Linked DNA regions of Homo sapiens: regions 2, 3, 4 and 5 are each linked to region 1. The links are contacts of gene promoters, found by promoter capture Hi-C in blood cells and fetal thymus (Javierre and others, 2016). All regions are on one chromosome and are shown on one strand. Each heading gives the region's core, a stretch centred on a gene start or on the middle of the fragment in contact. The rest is flanking DNA. Distances are from core to core; before and after follow the strand shown.

What was found. The method cuts DNA at HindIII sites, captures the fragments that hold promoters and counts their contacts. A CHiCAGO score of 5 or more calls a contact.
Region 2: a fragment that was not itself captured here is called in contact with the fragment with the promoter of MYO1E in region 1 in 5 of 17 cell types (M2 macrophages, M1 macrophages, endothelial precursors and 2 more); the score reaches 7.6 in M2 macrophages.
Region 3: a fragment that was not itself captured here is called in contact with the fragment with the promoter of MYO1E in region 1 in 5 of 17 cell types (total B cells, M2 macrophages, naive B cells and 2 more); the score reaches 10.4 in total B cells.
Region 4: a fragment that was not itself captured here is called in contact with the fragment with the promoter of MYO1E in region 1 in 1 of 17 cell types (total B cells); the score reaches 5.6 in total B cells.
Region 5: a contact is called between a fragment that was not itself captured here and the fragment with the promoter of MYO1E in region 1, in 5 of 17 cell types (total B cells, naive B cells, M2 macrophages and 2 more). The highest score is 10.0, in total B cells.

What each region holds. Positions count from the first base shown.
Region 1 is chr15:59,370,034-59,375,028 of GRCh38, reverse strand. MYO1E (myosin IE) reads left to right here and starts at 2,158. Exons shown (of 28, transcript NM_004998.4): 1 at 2,158-2,531. The coding sequence starts at 2,529. RefSeq lists enhancers at 1,870-2,374, 2,375-2,878 and a silencer at 2,894-3,213. The HindIII fragment of the contact is 5,897 bases long and covers 2,051-4,995 here.
Region 2 is chr15:59,263,743-59,268,445 of GRCh38, reverse strand. All of the region lies in intron 2 of MYO1E (myosin IE), which reads left to right. Among named protein-coding and RNA genes, the nearest start is that of LDHAL6B, 59 kb to the right of the region's middle. The HindIII fragment of the contact is 947 bases long and covers 975-1,921 here.
Region 3 is chr15:59,247,705-59,252,606 of GRCh38, reverse strand. All of the region lies in intron 4 of MYO1E (myosin IE), which reads left to right. Among named protein-coding and RNA genes, the nearest start is that of LDHAL6B, 43 kb to the right of the region's middle. The HindIII fragment of the contact is 9,944 bases long and covers 1-4,902 here.
Region 4 is chr15:59,454,048-59,458,750 of GRCh38, reverse strand. FAM81A (family with sequence similarity 81 member A) reads right to left here. Exons shown (of 9, transcript NM_152450.3): 2 at 105-201. The coding sequence starts at 124. Among named protein-coding and RNA genes, the nearest start is that of FAM81A, 18 kb to the right of the region's middle. The HindIII fragment of the contact is 5,091 bases long and covers 505-4,703 here.
Region 5 is chr15:59,472,355-59,476,950 of GRCh38, reverse strand. All of the region lies in intron 3 of FAM81A (family with sequence similarity 81 member A), which reads right to left. Among named protein-coding and RNA genes, the nearest start is that of FAM81A, 36 kb to the right of the region's middle. The HindIII fragment of the contact is 6,137 bases long and covers 1-4,596 here.

The DNA of each region.
Region 1 (4,995 bases), core at 909-3,408:
CACTGTAGGCATGAGCCACTGAGCTTGGCTGACCTAATAATATTCTGAAGCTGATATTTCCCTATGAGATATGGAGTCAGACTTATCTGAGACTTTATCATGTCTGTGTGTACCTAGGCAATGCCTAGTACAGATGGCATGCTGTTTTCTTTCCAATTCATACTACATAACTATGTCAGATGAATTTCCTGCCCTAAACTATAGCTCCAAATATGGCAGTTCCTTGCACAAAACTACTGTCGCATTTCATTATGCTTGCTTCTTTCCTGTATTTATTCTTTCTAAAAATTTATCGTTTGTTTTCCCCATCCTAAAATTGTAAGCTCAGTGAGGGCAGGGACCAGTTGTAGCTCCAGTGTTTAGCTGTGCTGTCTTATAACACACATTCGATTATATTGTTGCCAAACTATGTAAATGATTACTACAAGAATTTGGACAATATGATTTTCTTTCAACTTTTAAAAGTGAGATATAATGAACGTACCATAAGACTCACCCATTTAAAAAGCATAACACAGTGGTTTTTAGTATATTCATAAACTTGTACAATCATCACCACTAATTCCAGAATATTTTCATCACTTCAATAGGAAAATGCATACCTGTTAGCAATTACTTCCATCTCCCCTCTCCCCCAGCCCCTAGCAAACCACTAACCTACTTTTTATCTCTATAGATTTCCCTATCCTCAACTTTCATTTAAATGGAATTATATAATATGTGGTCTTTTGCTCCTGGCTTAACACGATATTTTCGAGATTCATCCATGTTGTAACATTTTGTTTACCCTTTTAGACAAGATAAAGTTTAATACCCTTTCTAACTCTATGCTCAGATAGTCAAGTGAAGAGCTACAACCAAATTTCTTTTTCCTTTCTTCCTTTCTTCTCTCTCTCTCTCTTTCTTTCTTTCCTTCTTTTTTTTTTTGACAGAATCTTGCTCTGTCGCCCAGGCTGGAGTAGAGTGGAACGATCCCGGCTCCCTGCGACCTCCGCCTCCCCTGTTTAAACGATTCTCGTGCCTCAGCCTCCCGAGTAGCTGAGATTACAGGCATGTATAACCATGCCGGGCTAATTTTTGTATTTTTAGTAGAGAAGGGGTTTCACCGTGTTGGTGGCCAGGCTGGTCTCAAACTCCTGACCTCACGTGATCCACCAACCTCAGCCTCCCAAAGTGCTGGGATTGTAGGCGTGAGCCACAGCGCCCTGCCTCAACCAAATTTCAGAAAGTATCATAATATCATTATGCTTCATAGTTTCTCTATGCCCTGAAGTTTACCAATTTTATCTTCTACAGATTCCAGGAAGGCAGCCTGTTAAGACTCACCAAATTTACTTCCTCAGCCTCCAGAACAATAAAATCAAACTCCCTACCTTGATTTTAAGATTCTGCTTCCCCCCACCCCGCCCCACCCCAATCTTCTCCTTGGATATTCGACAGTCTGGAATAATGCATTTTTACAGTTCTGATTGTTTTCAGCAGATGTGTTGGCTGAGGTTGGATGGGGTTTCTTCCCACCTATCTCTCCTCTCTCCTTCCCTCTGCCCACTGCACGTGCAACAACTTTTCTGCCATCAAAACGTGCAAAAAAGAAACAAGAAAGAAAGGAAAGAGAAAGAAAAGAAAAACAGAAAAAAGAAAAGAAAAAGCAGCCGGAAGTCTTCCTTTGTTTTCCAAGGAAATTCAGGTAAAAGGAGGGGTGGGGAAATGATATTTTTGACTTTGCTCACAATCCAGACGTAGGAAAGAAAAAGGATTTCCTTTGGGCTGCTGCCACGACTCTGATGTTTTATGCTGATAAAATATTTCCTTCTTAAAAAAAAGTTCTGGGAAAATCATGCCCCTTCAACTTGGAAGCGAAACCCACCCTAACTTTCGTCTTAAAACGCAGCGAAGTGAAAGGTTTGCTCCTCTTTCACGAGGGTTTTGTTCCTTACAGTTCGGGTCTTGCTACCAGGAGCGAGCTGGGTCCGCAGCGTTCTTCGGTGGCTGGCGCGGGAGGAGGACTACAGGATCCAGAGATCTTTGGAAACTCCAGCAGCTCCAAGCTTGTTGGCTACTACGGTTTCCCTGAGGAGTGACGCTACGAAAACAAACCCTGATTGGTCAGGCCTGAGCTGAGTTCTCCATTTATGGACAGATTGCCCGGCCCGAGCCGAGACTCAGCCAGAGGAGTACGGATTAAGTGGCCGAAGAAAGAGGAGTGAGGCAGGGGAGCGAGGCGGACGCTCCGAGCGCATCGGACTCACCTGGGCCGGCGGCGACCGGCGAGTACGAGTGGACTCTTGCCCTCCGCAGCATGCGCCCCGCCTGCTAAGTCGCCGCCGTCTCGCCCTCACCTAGCACCGCCAATCCCGCCTGGATGGAGTCCCCTCTGGGTTCCCATTGGCTCCTGTGAGTGCTTGGGTGTCGGGAGCCTGTTTTTGGCGAGGGGAACCAACTTTTGAAGTTCGCCCAGAAGACTGCGTTCCAGCCCCAGTTCCCCGGCAGCGGGACCCGGCGAAGACGCGACCGCGGCGCGAGTCACCATGGTGAGTTGGCCGCGCCGCGTCCTAGGACGCCGGACCCGGGGACGGGGCAGGAAACCCCGGCGTGGTGCACCCACCTTGGGCGCGCTGCCGGGGCCAGGGGTGGAGAAGGTGGACGCGGGAGCCGGCACGTCGCGAGCTCTGATTTCCTGCCGCTTTCCGTAAACCCGGGCCGGGGGAGAGCGAGCGAGGGGCCAAGGAAAACTTTATTCCAAGTCGGTTTCTGCGTCGCGAAACTTTCTGTGGCCGGGTTGCTATGGCTGCCAGCTGTCGGAAGCCAGGGTGTGGGCGCATCGGCTGCGAGGGGCACGGCGCGGGAGGGGGTCCCCTCCTCCTGCTGGGACGTGGGGGGCGCAGCCGGCAGGGGAGGTGCTCGGAGACTCGCGCCGCAGCCGCTGGCGGCGTCCCCTGCCCTCCCCGCGGCCGTGCCCGCCCCGCCCCGGGCACCCTCGCGCCGACTCCCTCTCCTCCCCGCCGCCGCTCCGCTGCCCGGCAGCGCCCGCAGCTGTCCCGCCTGGCAGCGGCACGCGGGCGGGGGCGGTCCCTGGCCCGCCTTGGCGAGGGGCGGCGCGGGCCGCACAAAGGCAGGCGGGGGCGCCAGGTAGGGCGAGCACCTGGCGGCCGGCGGGCTGTCAAGAGCCAGGGAGACTCGGGCGCGGGCGGCAACCACGCCGCCCCGGACCTGTGCCGGGCGCCGGCCCCGAGGGTCTCCGCGCCCCGGACGCCAAGTAAACACCTCCTGAAGAGGACCCCACCCCTTCCCAAGCGCGAGGGGATCGGGGCTTTTCGGGGATCCAGGGGACGCTTCGCACGGGAAGACGCCCTCGCGAGTTTCGAGTTTGTTGCTGTTTTCCCTTTGGCACTTTGGGAATGTGTGGAAGGGGCCGCCTCTTTGACTTGTGACTTTTCTGCTATTCCAACTCCCCAGTCCAGCTACACTCCCCTCCCTCCCTGTATAACCTTAGCCACCTCCCTTGGGCTTTGGCGTGGTGTACTTTTCTTTGCGGGGCACGAAAGCAAGGACTCTATTTTGAAGAGATCGGCAGTTCATCAAAAAAAAAAAAATCTATTACAAGGCTTCATAGTTTCCACACTTGCTTCTTTTCAAGTAGTCCTGCTTAGGTGGATTATCTCGTCCTCTTCTGGTTTGCTGTTGTTTTCTAATGGCTGTGGAAGAGAAGCCAAGTCAAAATGATAACCAGCACAACACTAATTAAAAAATCGATATCCCGGTGAGCAGCCTGAGGGAAGTGCAGCAGAGGCCCATCGAAACCTGCACACAAAGCTCAGAAGCCCCCTTGCCCCGTGCTGTTTATTCCAAAGAATGATTACAAACAAACATCAACGAGAAACCTTTCAAGGCATCCTCGGCCAAAGCCTTTTCTTTTTACATAGTCCAAAATTAAGTCACTTTTGCCCCATCTAAGAGAACACTTTGTCTATACATTTCCTCTTCTAGTTTTAAGGTTTAAGAAGTCAGTCTACTCTACGTTACTTTTGGACCCCTTCCCTCACCCCAGCAGAGAACCATTCCCATTGGGCATGTGTTTGGGTGAAGCTACCTCACTGGGCACCTGGTCCCTTGAAGCAGTGTGATAGTCCTGGTACTTGAGAATTGCTGTAATCATTTTCCGTGGGTCAATATTTCTTAAAAAAATCAATGTGTTTATGTCAAGAACTTAAAGAATCTTACTGAATTTAAGTACTTGAGTGGTACCTTGAGGAAATTAACTTCCCCTCAGTTAAACTCATTTTTCATGCTGAATGGACTGAAATATACTCTAGGTTGCCTTTTCCGAAACCTGTGATACCATGCTTAATTCAGCCCCATTGCAGATGAAGTAGAGGGTTGGTCAAATGCATGCGAAGAAGGCATGCTGTAGGGAAGAGGTGGTTCTATCTGAGGACAGTGTGTGACTTCCCTATTGATGGGCTCCCTGCCATCAGCACAGATGGGCATGTTGTGTGCCCCCAGGCGACTATCTGTGCATCAGATATGGTTGCTGAAGTCACAATTCACTGATGGAAAAGTTGAAACAGCTGGCTGTCCTGAAACAGGAGATGTGCCATTGATAGATCTACTGGATCCAGAGTGATTTGGCCAAAGTTAATCATTTCTTTCCTGACTTGAAAAATTGTTCATTATGTATGTGAAGTTGCCTTAGAATAGAGCATCATCTTAAATAATCAGAAACCCAAGTTACAATATTTAATGTTTATGTCAGACTCTGTCAAGCCAAATGATACTTCATTTTGTGTTCCACATCTGCCCAGGCCTGCCCAAGTTGTATCCCTTCAGCTGCTTAGAACAGGAAGGGAAAGGACATTACCTTCTTTGGGTGTGGCTGAAGATTAGCATGGAGGCTAAAATTCATCAGAAGGCCCTTGGCGGCCAGGCGCAGTGGCTCACGCCTGTAATCCCAGCACTTTGGGAGGCTGAGGCAGGAGGAATACTTGAGCCCAGGAG
Region 2 (4,703 bases), core at 199-2,698, 110 kb after region 1:
CTGTTTATGCGCCTTTGAATTAATGCCTTTGAATCGATGACTGACTAATCGTGTGTTCTACCAAGGAAATGAGTTACTTGACCACTAATGACTTTATGTTTTAGAAATCTCTACCCACTGAATATATGGGAAGCCCAGCATAAATGTGCTTTCTATCATTAGCACAGAGTAGCTTTCAGCTTTGAGGGAGCTTGATGGATGTTTGTGAAATAATACAGGGGCTCTGCTGCAAGTCTTCCTCTGCTAAGTGGTAAAAGCATCCTTTAACACTTCAATGTTAAGGGAATATTATAATAGAATGGCATTACTGTAAGTAAGAGTTGGGTTTTTTCCTCTCCTATGTTTAATTGTTAAGACGAGAAGAGACTTGATTTCACATTGAGTTATAAAATTGCTCACTTTATCCCTTCTATATCTAATTCCTGCACATTGTCTTGTGTTGAAAGTCAGCATTTGGGGCGATCGATTGTTAATGCATTCAGGCTGAATGCACATTTCTTCTACATTAGGAAAAAAAAATCCACTTAGAAAATGCTGACATCGTTTACCAATAAAACTCCCTATTTTTGAGTTATTTGTCCTATGACAAGGTTTAATTTGCCATCTGTTTGTCATCAATGTTGCCACACTTTTTACAATTACATTGTAAGATCTATGAGGAAAACATTACAGTGTTGTCTATTGTGCATAGGGAGAGAGCACTTCTGACCACTTGGCCGACGAAAAGAGTTCCTGCGCAAAGCACTCTGTGCTCATTCGGTCCAACTTTCTCCAAACTTGTTTTTACTCAAAGACCACACTCAGGTGTGTTTGGCATTTTTAATCCTTGAATTAGGAGTCCAGATTTTCGTGCCAGACCCACTAGATTTCAAAGCAGCGTAGTTGTTCCGAGTGAGGTCTGGCCCTTGGCATCCAGTTCACTGGAGGGGCAGCATGCTATATAGCAAGACAGATGCCGGGCTGGAGCCAAAGCTTCGAGTTCCAGGCCACCCACTCTCCACGTGACTCTGGGGAAGTCAACTCACCTCCCTGTGCCACCTCAGGGATGAACCCAAGGAAGTCCACTCGACCAGCGTAGGTGGTTTTGGGAAATTCACTGACTATTCAAATAGATTTTAACCGGCTGGGCACAGTGGCTCATGCCTGTAATCCCAGCACTTTGGGAGGCTGAGGCAGGTGGATCATGAGGTCAGGAGATTGAGACCATCTTGGCCAACATGGTGAAAACCCCGTCTCTACTATAAATACAAAAATTAGCCGGGCGTAGTGGCGCATGCCTGTAGTCCCGGCTACTCGGGAGGCTGAGGCAGGAGAATTGCTTGAACCCGGGAGGCGGAGGTTGCAGTGAGCCGAGATTGCACCACTGCACTCCGGCCTGGTGACAGAGCAAGACTCCACCTCAAAAAAAAAAAAAAAAAAAAAAAAAGATTTTAAAAGTTCAACTCTTAGCATTGCCTAATAAGACTATTAAAAACAAACATTTGAGGCTGGGCACGGTGGCTCACGCCTGTAATCCTAGCACTTTGGGAGGCCAAGGCGGGCGGATCACAAGGTCAGGAGATCGAGATCATCCTGGCTAACAAGGTGAAACTCCGTCTCTACTAAAAATGTAAAAAATTAGCCGGGCGTGGTGGCGGGTGCCTGTAGTCCCAGCTACTCCGCAGGCTGAGGCAGGAGAATGGTGTGAACCTGGGAGGCGGAGCTTGCAATGAGCCAATATCACACCACTGCACTCCATCCGGGTGACAGACTGAGACTCCGTCTCAAAAAAAAAAAAAAAAAGAACAGCAAAACAAAAAACAAAATTTGAAAGTTGTACTGCCATCACATTTCATAAAAGAAAATATTTTTACACCAAAAACGTAGGAAGGACATAATCTAAGAATAAAGGACAGTTTCTTTATTTTGAATAAATTAAGCTTTATGAAAAATTCAGTGCATTGTTTGTTTTTTTGTCATTCTTGCTGCAGGTCAATGAAAACTGATAGATCCACGGGCAGGCATTTGGGAACCCATCAGTTAAAGATATCTTGGGTTTCTTCTGTCTCCCAGAGTCTTTTAAATAATTGGCATTTTTTTCCTTCTGTTTTTTGGTATCATAGCTTCATATCTTTATGCAGTTTGAAAATTAACCTTAGGCCACACCTTCACCACCAAGGATTATGTGGGTAAAGACAATGATCCGAACGGCTTTTCCCAGAGGCACACCTGAATTATGCAACAGGAGTGGGAGTGAGCATTGTTGGAATTACCTGGAGTTCCCAAAGCAGCAGGAGAGCACAGGTGTCCGGAAAATAGCTAAGGTCTCTGCAGACATAGCAAGGTGGAAAAGGTGAGAATTGTTTAGATAAACAATTATTCCAAACTCTCACCGGAAATAACTACGATATGTTTATTTTCTTTAAATCAATTAAATTCTCCTTAGTTTTTCTGTAGAAACAGCCATTTTATTTTTTGAGACTTTTTTTTAAATTTTTTATTTTATTTTATTTGCTCTGTCACCTAAGCTGGAGAGCAATGGTGTGATCACAGTTCGCTGCAGCCTTGCCTTCCCAGGCCTAAGTGATCCTCCCACCTCAGCCTCCCAAGTAGCTGGGACTACATGTGAAGACCACCATGCCTGGCAATTTTTTTTTTTTTTTTTTTTTTTTTTAAGGAGATGGGGTCTCAGTATATTGCCCAGGCTGGTCTCGAACTCCTGGACTCAAGCAATCATCCCACTTGTCCTCCCACAGTGTTGTGATTATAGCACCCAACCAGAAACAGCCATTTTAAACCAAACTTTATTTTTTAGGTGTCTTCCCAAATAGTATTATCCCCAAGAACCCTACTGATAAATTTAGGGAGCAGGTACAAATTTCCCTCTTCATTTCATTCTGACCTGAGTCATTGATTCACGATTGGCCTAGAATAGTCCAAAATAAATTTTTGTTTTTGTTTTTTTTCCTGAATATCTCCTTAACCAGGCCCTAATCAGAATTTATGTAATCTACTTGGTGAAAAATCAAGACTTAATGAGATATCTCTTTATATAGCAAATTAACAGTTTTTAAAATGTTGGTCACTTTAGGAGCTCATATGCAACTGAATTCATATTTATTGAGTAACCAAGGGATTGGTGGGGAGGTGGTACCTTTGTCTGTTGTCCTGAGGGCAGCCCTTTATTCTTTGTGTGCAGTGATCAATTTGTCTAGGACAAGGCGGCAGTAACCACATTCCCTTTACAACTAAGGGAACAAGTACCCTCCTCCATGGAAGGAGCTTATTTGCCTGTTTGTTTTTCCCTGGGGATAGATGTAGACATGAAATAAACATCTTCCTCTTCTGAAGTGAAGATGGTTCTAGCAGTGCTGTGTTTCTTTAAAATTGGGTTTACCATAAGAATCATTATTACTTCATTCATTAATTGTTTGTTTGTTTTCTTTTTTGGGAGCCAGGGTCTGGCTCTGTTGCCCAGGCTGGAGTGCAGTGGCATGATCATGGCTCACTGCAACCTCGACCTGCTTGGCTTAAGCAATCCTCCCACCTCAGCAGGAACTACAGGCACGTACCAACCAACATGCTTGGCTAATTTTAAAAAAATTTTTTGTAGAGATGAGGTCTCACTAGATTGCCCAGGCTGGTTTCGAACTCCTGAGCTCAAGGGGTCCACCCACCTTATTCTCCCGAAGTGCTAGGACTACAGGCTTGAGCCACCACAACCTGCTCGTTCATTCAATTTTGATTAGGTCCTTACCAATTAGAAAAGATACTTTAAAAATCCACCTAAGGGAATTAGGTTTTCGAGTATGCAAAGCATCAGAGAATCTAAGTTAGAAGAGGCTGCCAATTTAGGGTTGCCAGATAAAATTCAGGACTGCTGGTTAAGTTTGAATTTCAGATAAACAACAAGTTACTTTTTACTATAAGTATGTACCAAATATTACTGGGGAACATACTTATTTGGAACATACTTAAAAAAATTCTTGTTTGAATGACTTTCCAATTTAACTAGTTTTCTGTGTTTTTATTTGCTAAATCTGGCTACCAGTAATAATATTAACGCAACAGTACCTGCTTATCTTAGACATTCTAGCTTTTGATTAAGAGTATGGGCGTGGGATCCAGACTGCCTGAGTTTGAATCCTAGCTCTGCCACTTATAGTGTGTGACCTTAAGCAACTTTTAAAAATTTCTCCGTGCCTCAGTTTCCCTGTACAGGCTGAGTATCCTTAATCTGAAAATTCCAAATTTGAAATGCTGCAAAGTTTGAAATGTTTTGATAATCGACACGATGCTCTTCAGAGCATTTCGATTTTGGATTTTTGGGTTAGGGATGCTGAACTGGTGGTGAGTGTAATGCAAACGTTCCAAAATATGAAAAAAAGCACAATCTGCAAAAAGCATTTTGGATAAGGGACAGTCAACCTGAAGTCAAATAGGTTGTTATTTGGTGCTAAGATGTAAATGTATATGTGTTTAATTAATTTTATGACGCCTTATTGAGTCTTGGCTACGGCATCATGGACGTCTTACCTGCTTGATAATTTTAACAGTACATGTATGTGTCCTAAATTTTCACTAATCTATCATTGGCCTCATCTGACTTTGGCAATTGGGAATACATTTTCCATGGCCCTTCTTCCATAACTCTTCAGTAATTTTCAGTTATGGCTCAATCACTGTCTCATCAGCATTTTCTCTTAGCACTATGGCCTGCCCTT
Region 3 (4,902 bases), core at 507-3,006, 120 kb after region 1:
AGTAGCTGGGATTACAGGCACACGCCACCACATCTGGCTAATTTTTGTATTTTCAGTAGAGACGGGGTTTCCCCATGTTGGCCAGGCTGGTCTCAAACTCCTGACCTCAGGTAATCCGCCTGTCTTAGCCTCCCAAATTGCTAGGATTACAGGCATGAGCCACTGCACCCAGCCTCTTTTGCATTTTTAGTAGACAGGGTTTCACCATGTTAGCCAGGCTGGTCTTGAACTCCTGACCTCAAGTTATCTGCCTACCTCAGCTTCCGAAAGTGCTGGGATTACAGGCACGAGGCACCGCACCCCGCTAGGCCTTGGTTCATTTTAATGGGAAATGGCATTAAGAGACCACTAAACTAGACACCAAGAGTGCTCACTGCCCTGTGTTTTCAGTGCCTATAGTTCTTTAAAAGTACAAAGCTAGGGAATATGAGCTTTTTAAGAGAAAAATGAAGTTGAAAAATTAACTGTTTTCAATTAATTTTTAAGATTTCAGAGTTTTTATTTCTTTGATTTTAATTTTTGTATCCCATTTATCTTATGCTGAACAATCTTAGTTCCTGATTACATTAGCAATTATTTGCATTGCATTGTATGCGTTTTAGACAGATAGAATAAGTTTGTTAATGCTGTTAAAGTAACAATACCAATATTATTAGTAGCAATACTGAATTCATTTTAAAATTTCTTTTCTGGTTTTTGTCCAAATATCCAATATTTGCAGTCAAAATACTGGGTTTCATAAAAGTCACTTAAAATAATCCTTTTCTATGTCAACCTGACCTACAGTTGGGTTCATTTATTTCATTTACAATTTCAGTTGTTTTGCATTTTTAAATGTAATTTTGTTTTTATAATTATGCAAAACATTTACATGGTTCCCAAGTCAGTACTGCAAAACATGAGCACTGAAGCATTTCAAGGTAAATACATATCTGAAGTATTTGGAGGTAAATATAGACTTCATGACATTTTACCCCTAAATATTTCCACATGCATCTCTGAGAAATTGAAACATTTTCTTACTGATCCGAAGACCATTATCATAACTCAGTAATTAATAGTACATTTTCAACATCATCTAAAAACTTCAAACTTCTCTAATAGTCGCAAACGTCCTTTTCTGCTGGTTTATGCAAATCAAGTAACGCTGACTGCATTTGGTTATGAATCATAAATTTATTTTTATCCTACCACAATTGCCCTATTACTGCTGTTTTTTTTCATGACACTGACTTTTTGAAGAGACCAAAACTAGTTTTCCTACAGACATCATTTACATTTGTCTAATTGCTTCTTCCTGGTCTCACTATACTTATTCCTTCAGTTGGATTTTCTACAAGTTTAAGGTTATATCTAATGACTTGATCAGATGCAGGTGCAAGTTAAATTTTATGAGGAGGAACACCTGGGTCATGTTGAATTTGGTTGCTTAATAGGAAATGCTTCTGTTTGATACTAAGCGGAGGTCACCGACTACTAGAGAGGCAGGAGGTATTTTCCTAGCTGGAATTTAATGAGGGTCCAGGATGAGTTTTCTGATAGAGTCCTCTGCCCTTTCTCTTTCCTCACATTTTCCCTCTTCTGGGTGTGTGCCAAAACGAGTGGGATGGGAATGGTCTTCTTACATGAGCTTGCTAGTCTGGAGGCCCCCTCAGTCTTCTGCAGCCCACGTGTCTCCCTCCACCTGCACTGCAAGGTCCACCTGCACTGAAGCGGGATGATGCCCACTTCAGATCCTTGTTTCCAGCTGTTCAGGTGGCAGAGATTTCAAGGACCTGCTCCCAAGGATTTCTGTTGCAGTGGCTGTGTTTTCATTTAGGAGATGTGCTTTAATTTAGGAGCTACCTGGAGTTGGGCCAAACTCCAGGTTAAGGACACAGGCCTCCTCGGTAGACTGCCCACCCTGCAGACATCAGCTGCATGTTCAGGGCTCCCCAGGCCACCCTCATCAATTCAGGGGTTCCCACTACCCCCCGCCCCCGCCAGGTTCAGTAGTTCACTAGAACAACTCACAAAACTCAGAAAAGCCCTACACTTAGGATTACAGTTTCGTTCTGGCAAAAGGAGGATACAAATTAAAGCCAAACAAAAGAGGTTGAGGGCGAGGTCTGGGAGGGTCCCGAGGTGGAGTTTCTGGTTTTCCTCTCCCTGTGGAGTCATGGACAGCGCTACCTCCTACCGGTATGAGGTGTGACAATACTCACAGTATTGCCGACCAGAAAACATCACCTGAGCCTCTGATGTTTGGCCTCGATCACGCACCGCCTGCCTGGCCCACCTTCAGTTTCCAGCTGCTCTCGAAGGCTTGTGCAAATGCCTTTAGTTTCCAGTTGGAGGTCAGAATTGCGATGGTATGTCCCAAAGCCCCCGACATAAATCATATCGTCAGACTCTCCTATGGTCAAAGCCCCCAAGAAAGGAAAAGCACTCCTCTTAGGTAGGACATTCCAGGGGCATAGACATCACCGCCCAGTCACCGAGGGCAAAAGCCTGAGCCCTTGAGTTAATTCTCTTCTGCACCAGGGCTGTGGTTTGTCTGCTTTGAGAAAGCAAATTGGAAACCTCTGGCATGCCGTGGTTCATGCTCACCTGACCCTGGGCAGCACGCCTCACACCTGTCTGGGCCTTGGCTTTTTCACCTGTGAAGGAACTGGTTTTGGAACTCTTCCTTCCAAATAATGTTGGAGAGGAGGAAAGGCAGGGAAATCCTGTTCTGGGTGGAAAGGCCAAGTTTGTAGCCCCTGACACTGGATGGGGCAGGTGCTCCATCTGTTAGGGGCCGAGTTGAATGGTGCCTTTTAAAATGTGTTTGTGAGCAGAAAACAAACGAAAAAACCATTTTCTTGGAGGCTGGAAGAGAAGCCTGCTCCTCATGCTAAGGGATTCTGGCATGGCTGGAAAGACTAGGAATCTTTAGTGTCATTTAATTAGGAAATAAAAAGTGAGCGATGACCTAATTTCTATGGTGGTGTTTTAGACTTCCACCTCCCAGTTTCCCTGGTGTGACTTTGTCTAAATGACACTTTAGATGGCATAATGCAGCCCATAAAGGCGGCGTTTCTAGTTTCCTGTCAGTCTTACTCATATTTTCCAACGCAGTGGATACGGTGACAGGATGGACAGGCACCTGACCATTTCAAGACTAGAAATGAGTGTAACAAATCGGATTTTTTTTTTTTTTTTGAGACAGAGTCTTGCTCTGTCACCAGGCTGGAGTGCAATGGCGTGATCTCAGCTCACTGCAACCTCTGCCTCCCAGGTACAAGTGATTTTCTTGCCTCAGCCTTCTGAGTAGCTGGGACTACAGGCACCTGCCACCACACCCAGCTAATTTTTTTTGTATTTTTAGTAGAGACTGGGTTTCACCATGTTGGCCAGGGTGGTCTTGATCTCTTGATCTCGTGATCCACCCGCCTCAGCCTCCCAAAGTGCTGGGATTACAGGCGTGAGCCACCGCGCCTGGCCACAAAGTGGATTTTGAAAGAAATAAATCAAGGAAGGAGACGTGCTGCTTTCTCAAGCACAGGGCTCCATGGAAGCCTAGGTCCATCTACAAACTTGATTTGTCAAAACAGCTGGAGTTGAGCAGCCTTGGGTAGACTGACTTGCCAAGCAAACTCACAAGGAAGTGTGAATCAGACCCCAATTCATTATTGCATAGGCAGAATTCTGCCTGTGGACAGCCGATTATGTGCCCTGGAACACAGTCCACGAAGGGAGCTAGATTACCACGAGAACGCTGGATAGAGGGGTGAATTCTGAGCGAAGGGATGATCGTATTTGCTAAATCAGCTCACAGCAGTCACCTCTATCTGAAGATGTGAACACATGAACTAAGGGTGTTGCTCTAGTCTGCAGAACAGTCTTTTTACTTGGAGAAAACCCCCCATCTCTGCTGTTTACTTTCCTGTCCTGACTCTGCTGTAAGTCAACCCCCTTTCATTAACCTACACTCTCTCCTGCCAAGCCCTGATGTCTATTAGGCCAACTTCTAGTAAGGAATAAACACCTGGGGTTGACCTTGGATATTTCCTATGCCTTCCTCCTCAGCCCACTGGCAGACAAATCAGGAAGAGTGGCTTCTATGGATGCTAACTTTTTTTTTTTTTTTTTTTTTTTTGAGATGGAGTCTCACCCTGTCGTTCAGGCTGGAGTTCAGTGGTGTGATCTCGGCTCACTGCAACCTCCATCCCCCCGGGTTCAAGCGATTCTCCTGCCTCAGCATCCCAAGTAGCTGGGACTACAGGCGCCCACCACCTTGCCTGGCTAATTTTTTTGTATTTTTAGTAGAGACAGGGTTTCACCATGTTGGCCAGGCTGGTTATGAGCTCCAGACCTCAAGTGATCCACCTGCCTTGGCCGCCCAAAATGCTAGGATTACAGTTATGAGCCACCGCACCCGGCCTATAGATGCTAATTTTATCTACCATGCCTTGTGTTCACTAATTTATCTTTTTTTTTTTTTTTTTTTTTTTTTTTGAGACGGAGTCTCATTCTGTCACCCAAGCTGGAGTGCAGTGGCACACTCTTGGCTCACCACAACCTGTGCTTCCTGGGTTCAAGTGATTCTCTTGCCTCAGCCTTCTGAGTAGCTGGGATTACAGGGGTGTGCCATGACACCTGGCTAATTTTTTGTTTGTATTTTTTAGTATAGAAGGGGTTTCGCCCTGTTGGCCAGGCTGGTCTTGAACCCCTGACCTCAAGTGATCTGCCTGCCTCAGCCTCCCAAAGTGCTCTGATTATAGGCGTGAGCTGCCATGGCTGGCCTAGGTTCACCAATTTAACTTTCTAGGGATAAGTATTTCTGATTCCTGAATTGCCTTACTAGTTCAGTGGCTCTACAGATATGTAGGCTCCACCTCCAGAGATTCTGTTTCAACTGATTTGTGGTGGCCTTGGAGC
Region 4 (4,703 bases), core at 1,801-4,300, 83 kb before region 1:
CTTGAACAAAACCATTCTCCGATAATGTAACAGCCCAAGCTTTGATTTGTAACTATCACACCCACTAGCAGCCCCCATGGGATGAGTGGAAAGGAAAAGTATACCTTAGATGCATATTTTCCATATATTATACCTTTCCTTGGTGACACGAGAAGGAAATACAGTGCTCCGTTGGGCCATTTTCTTTTTAATAATTCACATCTGTTGAAAAAATAAGCACTAAATTATTTAACAGTTTATATCTAGAACTTAACCTCAAAAGCTTATTATTAAGTTGCTAAGTGGATCATAAATTATGTTGAAACACTGATAAGTTATATTATTAAATGTTTTGTATCTTATACATGAAATAAACAGCATATGTTTCCAAATAAGAAGAAAAGCAATCAAGCAAAATCAAAGCTCTTCTGAAATTAATATTGCTAAGCCTTGCAAGACAGACCAACAGGGACTGTACAATGGAGTTTCCTGAAGTTTCCTCACTCCAAATCTGCATCTCAAGCTTGAGAAACCACTTTTAACAGAAACTAGAGTGTTTAATAGGCTTATCCAATCTTATACTTCTCTGTAGAATTTTGCAGGAAACTACCTCAGTAAATTTGATCTCAGAAAACTTTTACTACTAATTCCATGGTAAATGAAGAGCACTTATTTCTAAATTAATCTCAAATAAAACAGCACATGATCAATGTGATCTGATTTGTGGGAAGATATCTATCCACCAAGGGAGTGAGAAAGATATTCCTCATTAGAACTTGAAAACTTTATAATAAGATACAATCATTCATATTTCATCTTGCATATAAGGAACATTTGGTCCCCACAACTCATTAGAAATGTGAAAAACACTAGAGGATGTTTAAAATACTTTATTATTTAGGTTCCTCAATACTGCTATCAATTGCCTTAAAATAATGAATGCCTACTAACTATGATCTGATTCCATAATTAATTCTCATTTAGATGCTGGATTCAGAAAGCATTTCTGATTGAAATCACTGTTTTGGCGTCATCTCTCTAGTGTTTTATTTTTGGAGTTTCAAAATGTGCACATTTCATTTTCTTAGACAAAGAACTTTAAACAAATTACATTTAAGGAAAAAAAAGTCATTCATGCCAAACAAGCTATGGTGCCCAAAGAGTTCTTCAGTGTCAAAGAGAAGCATTTCTGCCATATAGACTACAGTAGCCCTCCCTCATCTGTCAGGGGTACATTCCAAGACCCCCAGTGGATGCCTGAAACCGAAGCCTATATATACTATTCTTTTCTACACATACATACTCATGATTAAGTTTAATTCATAAATTAGGCACAGTGCTCTTGCACTTTGGGGCTATTATGAAGTAAAATAAGGGTTACTTGGTCACAAGCACTGCAATACCCCAACAGTCAATCTGATAACAGAGATGGCTATTAAGTGACTCACAGGGCCAGGTATACATGGTGTGGATATGCTGGACAAGAGGATGATTCCCGTTCTGGGCAGGAGGGAGCAGGATCGCACAAGATTTCATCACACTATTTCAGAACAACACACAATTTAAAACTTATGAATTGTTTATTTCTAGAATTTTTTATTTAATATTTTTGACCATGGTTGACCTTGGATAATGTGGAAAGTGAAACCATCGATAAGGGGGGACTACCGTAAATAAAATCAGGCCAGTGTGGGAAATGCTGTTATTTAGAATCATAGAATCTTTACAGTTTTAAAGTTGTAAGACATCTCAGTTGAGATATTAATCTACAGAATAGCCTAACTTAAGAAACATGTATTTGGCATCTATTAGGTAATTAAGTAACCTAACTAGGAAAAACTAAAATCCCTTCCCTCAGCAGAAGTCATCTAAACCAACCAGAAAACAATGGGTTGTGGCTCATGCCTGTAATCCCAGCACTTTGGGAGGCCAAAGTTGGAGGATTGCTTGAGCCCAGGAGTTCAAGCCCAGAATTTCGAGGCCAGCTGGGCAACATGGCGAAATCCCATCTCTACAAAAAATACAAAAATTAGCCAGGCGTATTGATGCACACCTGTAGTCCAAGCTACTCTGGAGGCTACTCAGGAGGATCACCTGAGCCCAGGGAGGCTGAGGCTACAGTGAGCCATGATAGCGCCACTGCACTCCAGCCTGGGCAATAGAGGAGACTCTGTCTCAAATACAAACAAACAAAAACAATGGGTTAAGTGGCTAACCCTGTGAAAAAAAGCACATGGGGAGGGAAAACAGGAGAGGGGTCGATTTTTCCTGGGTAGCAGCTAGGTCAGGAAGAACTGATGAGAATGAGTAGGCTTTCCCAAAATAGGGGATGGAGAGATTGTTCCACAGCTTCTCTTCAACACTCCAACCTCTACTTCCTTTCTTCTGAACATGCTCTGGCCTGCCTAACCTGTTCTTCCGCCCTCATATTTGGCCACTCCCTACCACAATCACCTGCTCCAGTCACCGGGAACCCCCGCCCCCGCCACCCCATCCACCACCGTCCTTGGATATGTCCTGCACACTCCTGCCATCACACCTCTGTGCGTGCGCTCTATGGGAAATGCCCTTCCCACCCCTGCCAGCCTAGAAAATTCATGCACTCTTTAAAGCCCCACTAGCCCCTCCAGTCTATAAAGTGGCTCTCTCTCTTGCATTTCTCCAGCTCTTTATCTGTTTGTATACTATTTATTGTGCTCTATTCTTTTTAGTTGTTTAATAGTCTAGCTCCCCTACTAAATGACACGCTCCTTACAGGCATGTTTCAAATCTTAATAAACACAGGGCTGACCTAGAAGTATCCATATATGTTTGTTAATGAATGAGTGAATGCCCAGCACTTCCAGATCAGAAACTGCAGCAATAAAGATATAAGACAATATACTTTAGTTAAAAAGTATAATTATTTACCAAGACTGAATCCCAAATATTAGACACTCAATAAGTATCTGAAAGAATGGGGACTTTGGCATCCCCTTCTCTGAAGGCCATTTCATCTACCTGAACAGAGCCACAAAAGTCAAGCCACACCACTGATTATCGGAGATGGCTTTTCAGAAGCAAACCCTCCTAAGCGCTATGCAGCTCTATGACAAGAAATTTCATAAGGCATGAGCTCACAAGACACATTATTCAGAATGGGTGCCCTTTATGAATGTGGTGAGGATCTGCATATCTGGCAGGTCGCTTGGTTTGTTAGCATCACGATTCTTTGCCAGAACGTGGAATCTATATTGCAGATGAATAAAGATTGATAATGAATAAGTCACAGGATTAAATAACATCTCAAGCATTGTTTCCAGATCTTCCCGTTGTTAATTCTGGCTTACCTGCCTGAGGTTATCATCTCCTGTACGTTTATAAATCTGATCACTGATACCACAGGTCTGTCTACAACCTTATCACACAGGTCTGGGTTTCATGCTGTTTTGATTGTGCAGTGATTCCACTATATTAAACAATATATTAAACAATCTCCACTTTATAAAGTTTTAAAATTGGGGGAAGTTGGGGGAAGGGACAGGTAGGTAAAGCAAGAAGAAAAGAATGGAAAGAAGTAAGAAAAAATAAACTCTGGGGCCAGGCACTGTGGCCTGTAATCTCAGCACTTTGGGAGGTTGAGGTAAGTGGATGGCTTGAGCTCAGGAGTTTGAGACCAGCCTGGGCAATATGGTGAAATGCCATCTCTACAAAAAAAAAAAAAAAAGTTAGCCAGGTGTGGTGGCACACACCTGTAGTCTCAGCAACCTGGGAGGCTAAGGTGAGCCCAGGAGTTTGGGACCAGCCTGGGCAACATGGCAAAACCCCATCTCTACAAAAAATACAAACAAAAAAAAATTAGCCAGGTGTGGAGGCACACACCTGTAGTCCTACCTGGGAGGCTAAGGTGGGAGGATTTCTTGAGCCTAGGAGTTTGAGACCAGCCTGGGCAACAAAGCAAAACCCCGTCTCTACAAAAAGTAAAAAAAAATAAAAAAAATTAGCTGGGCATGGTGGCATGCATCTGTAGTCCCAGCTACCCGGGAGGCTAAGGTGGGAAAATCACCTGAGCCTGGGAGGTCAAGGCTGCAGTGAGCCATGACTGCACCACTGCACTCTAGCCTGGGTGACAGAGTAAGACCCTGTCTCAAAAAAAGAAAAAAGAAAAATAATCCAAATGCCCAAAATATGCAATATATAAATAGAATTCAGAAGTTCACAGAAGAGTAAAGTGAAATGCTATTATCTAAATCAAAATGATTATTTGTGATTATGAGGATTCTGTGAAGGGAGAAACAAAAAAGGAAGTAGATATACATAGAGATGAATATTTTAAAATTTTAATGAAAAAGAAGACATTAATGCCAACCAATTATTATAGTTTTATAAGTGATGTGACACTGAGTAGAAAAACCTGCCATACCATTTTAATGTAAAATGGTAAATGAATTTAATAAATTAAAATGATAATTTTTACTAAAGAGTTGAATACCAATCATGTAAAAACAGTTAATTTTTCATTTCACTATTAAAATATAGGATTGATACATTATGCCCAACCATCAGAATAAAAAATAGGCAAAGCATTTATGAATAAAGTGGTTGTAATATGATGGTAAAACAAAAAACCCTATTTCCTTATAGCTAAAAACAGAGTGAAAGGATAGAGGGCAGGAACAGTGGAAGGTTTGTCTGGAAAGACAGCTGGATGTTGTTCTCTAACTCACCTCCAACAGCACCCTCAG
Region 5 (4,596 bases), core at 872-3,371, 100 kb before region 1:
ATGGGGTTTCACCATGTTGGCCAGGCTGGTCTTGAACTCCTGATCTCATGATCTGCCCACCTTGGTCTCCCAAAGTGCTGGGATTACAGGTGTGAGCCACCACGCCCGGCCAAGTATCAGTTTTATATTATGCCCACTCTCCCAATTTATTTATTTATTTAGAGATGGAGTCTTGCTCTGTCAGCCAGGCTGGAGTGCAGTGGCATGATCCTGGCTCACTGCAACCTCCACCTCCCAGGTTCAAACAATTCTCCTTCCTCAGCCTCCCAAGTAGCTGGGATTACAGGCACATGCCATCAGGCCCAGCTAATTTTTATATATATTTTTAGGAGAGATGGGGTTTCATCATGTTGGCCAGGCTGGTCTCGAACTCCTGACCTCAAGTGATCCACCCACCTTGTGGATCCCACACCCAAAGTGATGGGATTACAGGCGTGAGCCACCGTGCCTGGTGCCAATTTTTATATTACTTATAAATGAAGACTTCCTTTTAGTACTTTTTAAATTTACTCTACATCATTGTTACGGACTGAATGTTTGTGTCCTCCAAAAATTCATATGTTCACCAAGCGTGGTGGCTCATGCCTGTAATCCCAGCACTTCGGAAGACCAAGGCAGGAGGATTACTTGAGCCCAGGAGGTTGAGGCTGCAGTGAGCCATGATCATACCACTGCATTCCAGCCTGAATGACAGAGCAAGACCCAGTCTAAAAAAAAAAAAAAAATTGTAGGTTAAACTCCTAACCCTTGATGTGATGGTATTAGGAGGTGGGGCCTATAAGAGGTGATTAGGTCATGAGGGTAGAATCTTCACGAATGGGATTAGTACCTTAAAAGAAGGTCTTGCTTCTGCTCTCTACTTTCTGCCATGCAAGGATACGAAAAGACGACCATCTACAATTCAGGCAGCAGGGTCTCACCAGACACTGGATCTACCAGCATTTTGATCTTGGACTTCCCAGTCTCCAGAATCATGAAAAAGAAATTTCTGTTGTTTAAGCTACCCAGTCTATGGTAATTTGTCATAGCAGCCTAAACTAAGACAATCATGATTTCATTTTAATGAAGTTTGGCTATAAGACAGCAATTCTGATCTGTCATCAAGCATCCTAACATGTTTAGGTAGACATGCTTAAGTTCATAATACATATAAATCAATATAATTAGTGTTTCACATTGGAGTCTTAAATTTTTAAACTTCCTTGTTGTTACTTTGTCATTATATATAGTTACTACCAGTTACAAAAAAAGTAAACACTCAAATACAAACTAAATTTTTTGCCAAATTTAGATTTTACTCAGTTTTCCCTGTCTATCACGGAAATCATCACTTGCAAAATTGCACACTCCAAAAATACATGTAAATATAAAAGAGTGCTGTCTGGTTAAGGCAAGAATAACCATTACATAAAATGTGTTTCGGACGTTGGGAAAACAGCAAAATTGAAATTACTTTCTCACTGCATTGTAAATTTTTCAAAAATCATCTTAAAGAAACATGTTTAGGCCAGGCATGGTGGCTCATGCCTATAATTCCAGCACTTTGGGAGGCCATACATAACTGGTTGGTCACTTGAGGACAGGAGCTCAAGACCAGCCTGGCCAACATGGTGAAACCCTGTCTCTACAAAAATACAAAAATCAGCCGGGTGTGGTGGTGTGCCTGAAATTCCAGCTACTTGGGAGGCTGAGGCATGAGAATCACTTGAACCTGGGAGGCGGAGGTTGCAGTGAGCTGAGATCACACGACTGCACTCCAGCCTGGGTGAGGGAGTGAGACCTTGTCTCAAAAAAAAAAAAGGTTTTGGAAAAAATAATTATCAAAAGCCTAAACAATTGATGACTTCAGATTCCTTAGGCAGATTTTTTGATACAGCTGATTATTGAAGCAATTCAAGTGATCTCTCATCAAAGCAAGGATGGGTCAGGGGAGAACTCAGTGAGAACTAAAGCTAGAATTATCTAGTTTCATAAACAAGTTCTTCCTGAAACTCAGAAAGCAAAGAATGGCTGAATAGCACAGCCTGTCACATTTGAGAGTCGATTATAGAAGATCAGGTTCTAGAAGAGCTTCTAAGAGGTAAAGTAGAAAAGAGAAAAGAGCATATTTTTGGAGTTTTGCCACATGGGTTTATTCTCAGCACTGCCACTAACTGGCCTTGATACCTCAGGCCACTTCACTCAGCCTATCTGAAAAGGATGTTCTTTGCATTGATAACCTCATAGTCTCTTCTAGTCCTTTTTGCTACCAGCATATCTACAACTGGCTTCACTCTGTATTGGGCATTTATTCACTTAATAAGTATTTGCTGAGGTTTGAATGATGGCACCCCCTCCAAAAATTATGTTGAACTTAATCCCCATTGTGGTGGTATTAAGAGGCGTGGTATTTCAGGAGGTGATTAAGTCATGAGGGCTCCACCCTGAATGGACTGGGGCCCTTATAAAAAGGGTTTATGGGAGGAGGTCCACTCTGTTCAATCCTTTTGCAATGTGAGGACACAGGATTCATCATTCTTGCCCTTCCACCTTCTGCCATGTAAGCATGCAGCAAGAAGACCCTCACCAGATGCCAAATGCCAGTGCCTTGGGCTTGGACTTCCCAGCCTCCAGAACTGTGAGAAATAAATTTCTGTTCTTTATAAATTACCCAATCTCAGGTATTTTGTTATAGCAACACAAATATACTATGACAGCATTCACCGCATTTTGCTCCAAATATTGTACTAGACAATGCAAAGATGAGGAAGACAAGGTTCCTCTCTTTTTGAGAGGCTTGTAAAGTAACAATGTTAGTCCTATTCAATAAATGCTATAGTAAGAGTGGCACGAGTTCAGTGTCCAGGATACACTGAGGGAAAGGAAACTGGGGGCATGAGAGGAACTGGCAAGGAGGGCTTCCTAAAATGAAGGAACTGTTAAATAGCATCAGTGGCCCAGCTGAAGTTGGAAATTATGTATTTAAAATGGTTCTGGCTGGGCACTGTAGCTTATGCCTGTAATCCCAACACTTTGGGAGGCCAAGGTGAGAGGACTGCTTGGGCCCAGGAGTTCAAGACCAGCCTGGGCAACATAGCAAGACCTTGTCTCTAAAAAAATAAAATAAAATAAAGTGGTTCTGGCCACTGGAGTAGTACGTGGCAGCTACCAAATAGGAAATTATTCCCTGGATCCGACAGTTGCAGCTAAAACACTATCACCTCTTACGTTGACAGAAAAAATTAAGACCAGGATTTCTTAAGGGTAGAGTTATACTGTGCTTTTACCTGGAGGGGACGGTAATGTCAGAATAGACTGACTCCCATCTCTAGTCTTCCCCCACCCCCGTAAGCAAAGGGAACAGAGCTGAGTTCCCACAGGAAAGTGCTGGGTATTCTAAGAATGGGGAAGTAACAGTATTTTCTAATGTGAAACATGGGAAAAGTTTGTATTTTTTGTAACATACCCTGGCACCCTCTTATCTGCAGGGGACACGTTCCAAGACTTCCTGTGGATGCCTGACACTGCAGATAGTACCAAACCCTACATATACTATGTTTTTTTGATCTGATAATCAAGACATCTACTAAGTGACTAACGGGCAGGTAGCATATACAGTGTGGACAAAGTAGTGATTCACGTCCCACCCAGGCCGGGTGGTGAAAGATTTCATCATGCTACTCAGAATGGCACACAATTTAAAACTTATCAATTGCTTATTTATGGATTTTTCCATTTAATATTTCCAGATCATGGTTGGCCACAGATAACTGAAATTGCGGAGAGTGAAGCCACAGATAAAGGGGCCTACTGTACTTCTTTGCCAGTGGTTGAGGGGATGGGAACCTGAGAATTCTTATTGATCCCCATCACTTGGATTTTACCTGTCGTTAGATTTAGGTGCAGCAGAGCTATCAGTCTCTTGATAAATCTGAAATCCCTTTCAAAATTGAAATGTTCGAGTTGGGGTTCTTCAATTTTGTACAGTTGTCAACTTAGGGTTGCTTAGTTTTTAGCGTCTGGGATAAAACTGACTCAGCACCCAAAAATAAAACTGAAAAGATCATTCTTAATATAGATACCAGCATCCAAAGACAAGTATATTATTTACAGCAATTTTGTAAACTTTCTACGTTCCTCTGAGGTCATTGCACTTCTTTAGTTGCAGGTAATTGGACCTGACTAACTTAAGGGGGTTAATGGAAATGATTGGACAACATACCAAGACTCCCGTCTCTACAAAAAATAAAATAATTAGCTGGGCATGGTGGCCTGTGCCTGTAGTCTCAGCTCCTCAGGAGGCTGAGGTGGGAGGATCACCTGAACCCAGGAGTTAGAGGCTACAGTGAGCTATGATCATACCACTGCACAGCCAGACCCCGTCTCCAGAAAACATTTAAAAAAAAAAAAAAGGAATGGGGAAAGGAACACATAATCAACAGGGAAGCTGGGTTATGCAGGTTGAGAAGAAGACACAAAGAGTATTTCCTGAGGTCCAAGCAGCAGGAACTACTAGCCAGTATCCCGCAGGCAAAGTGGCTGCAAGGAAGGTACTATGGCCATTTCCAGTCTTTGAATTAGCCTGCTCAGGTTTTCGTTATGTTTTGGTTTGGTTTG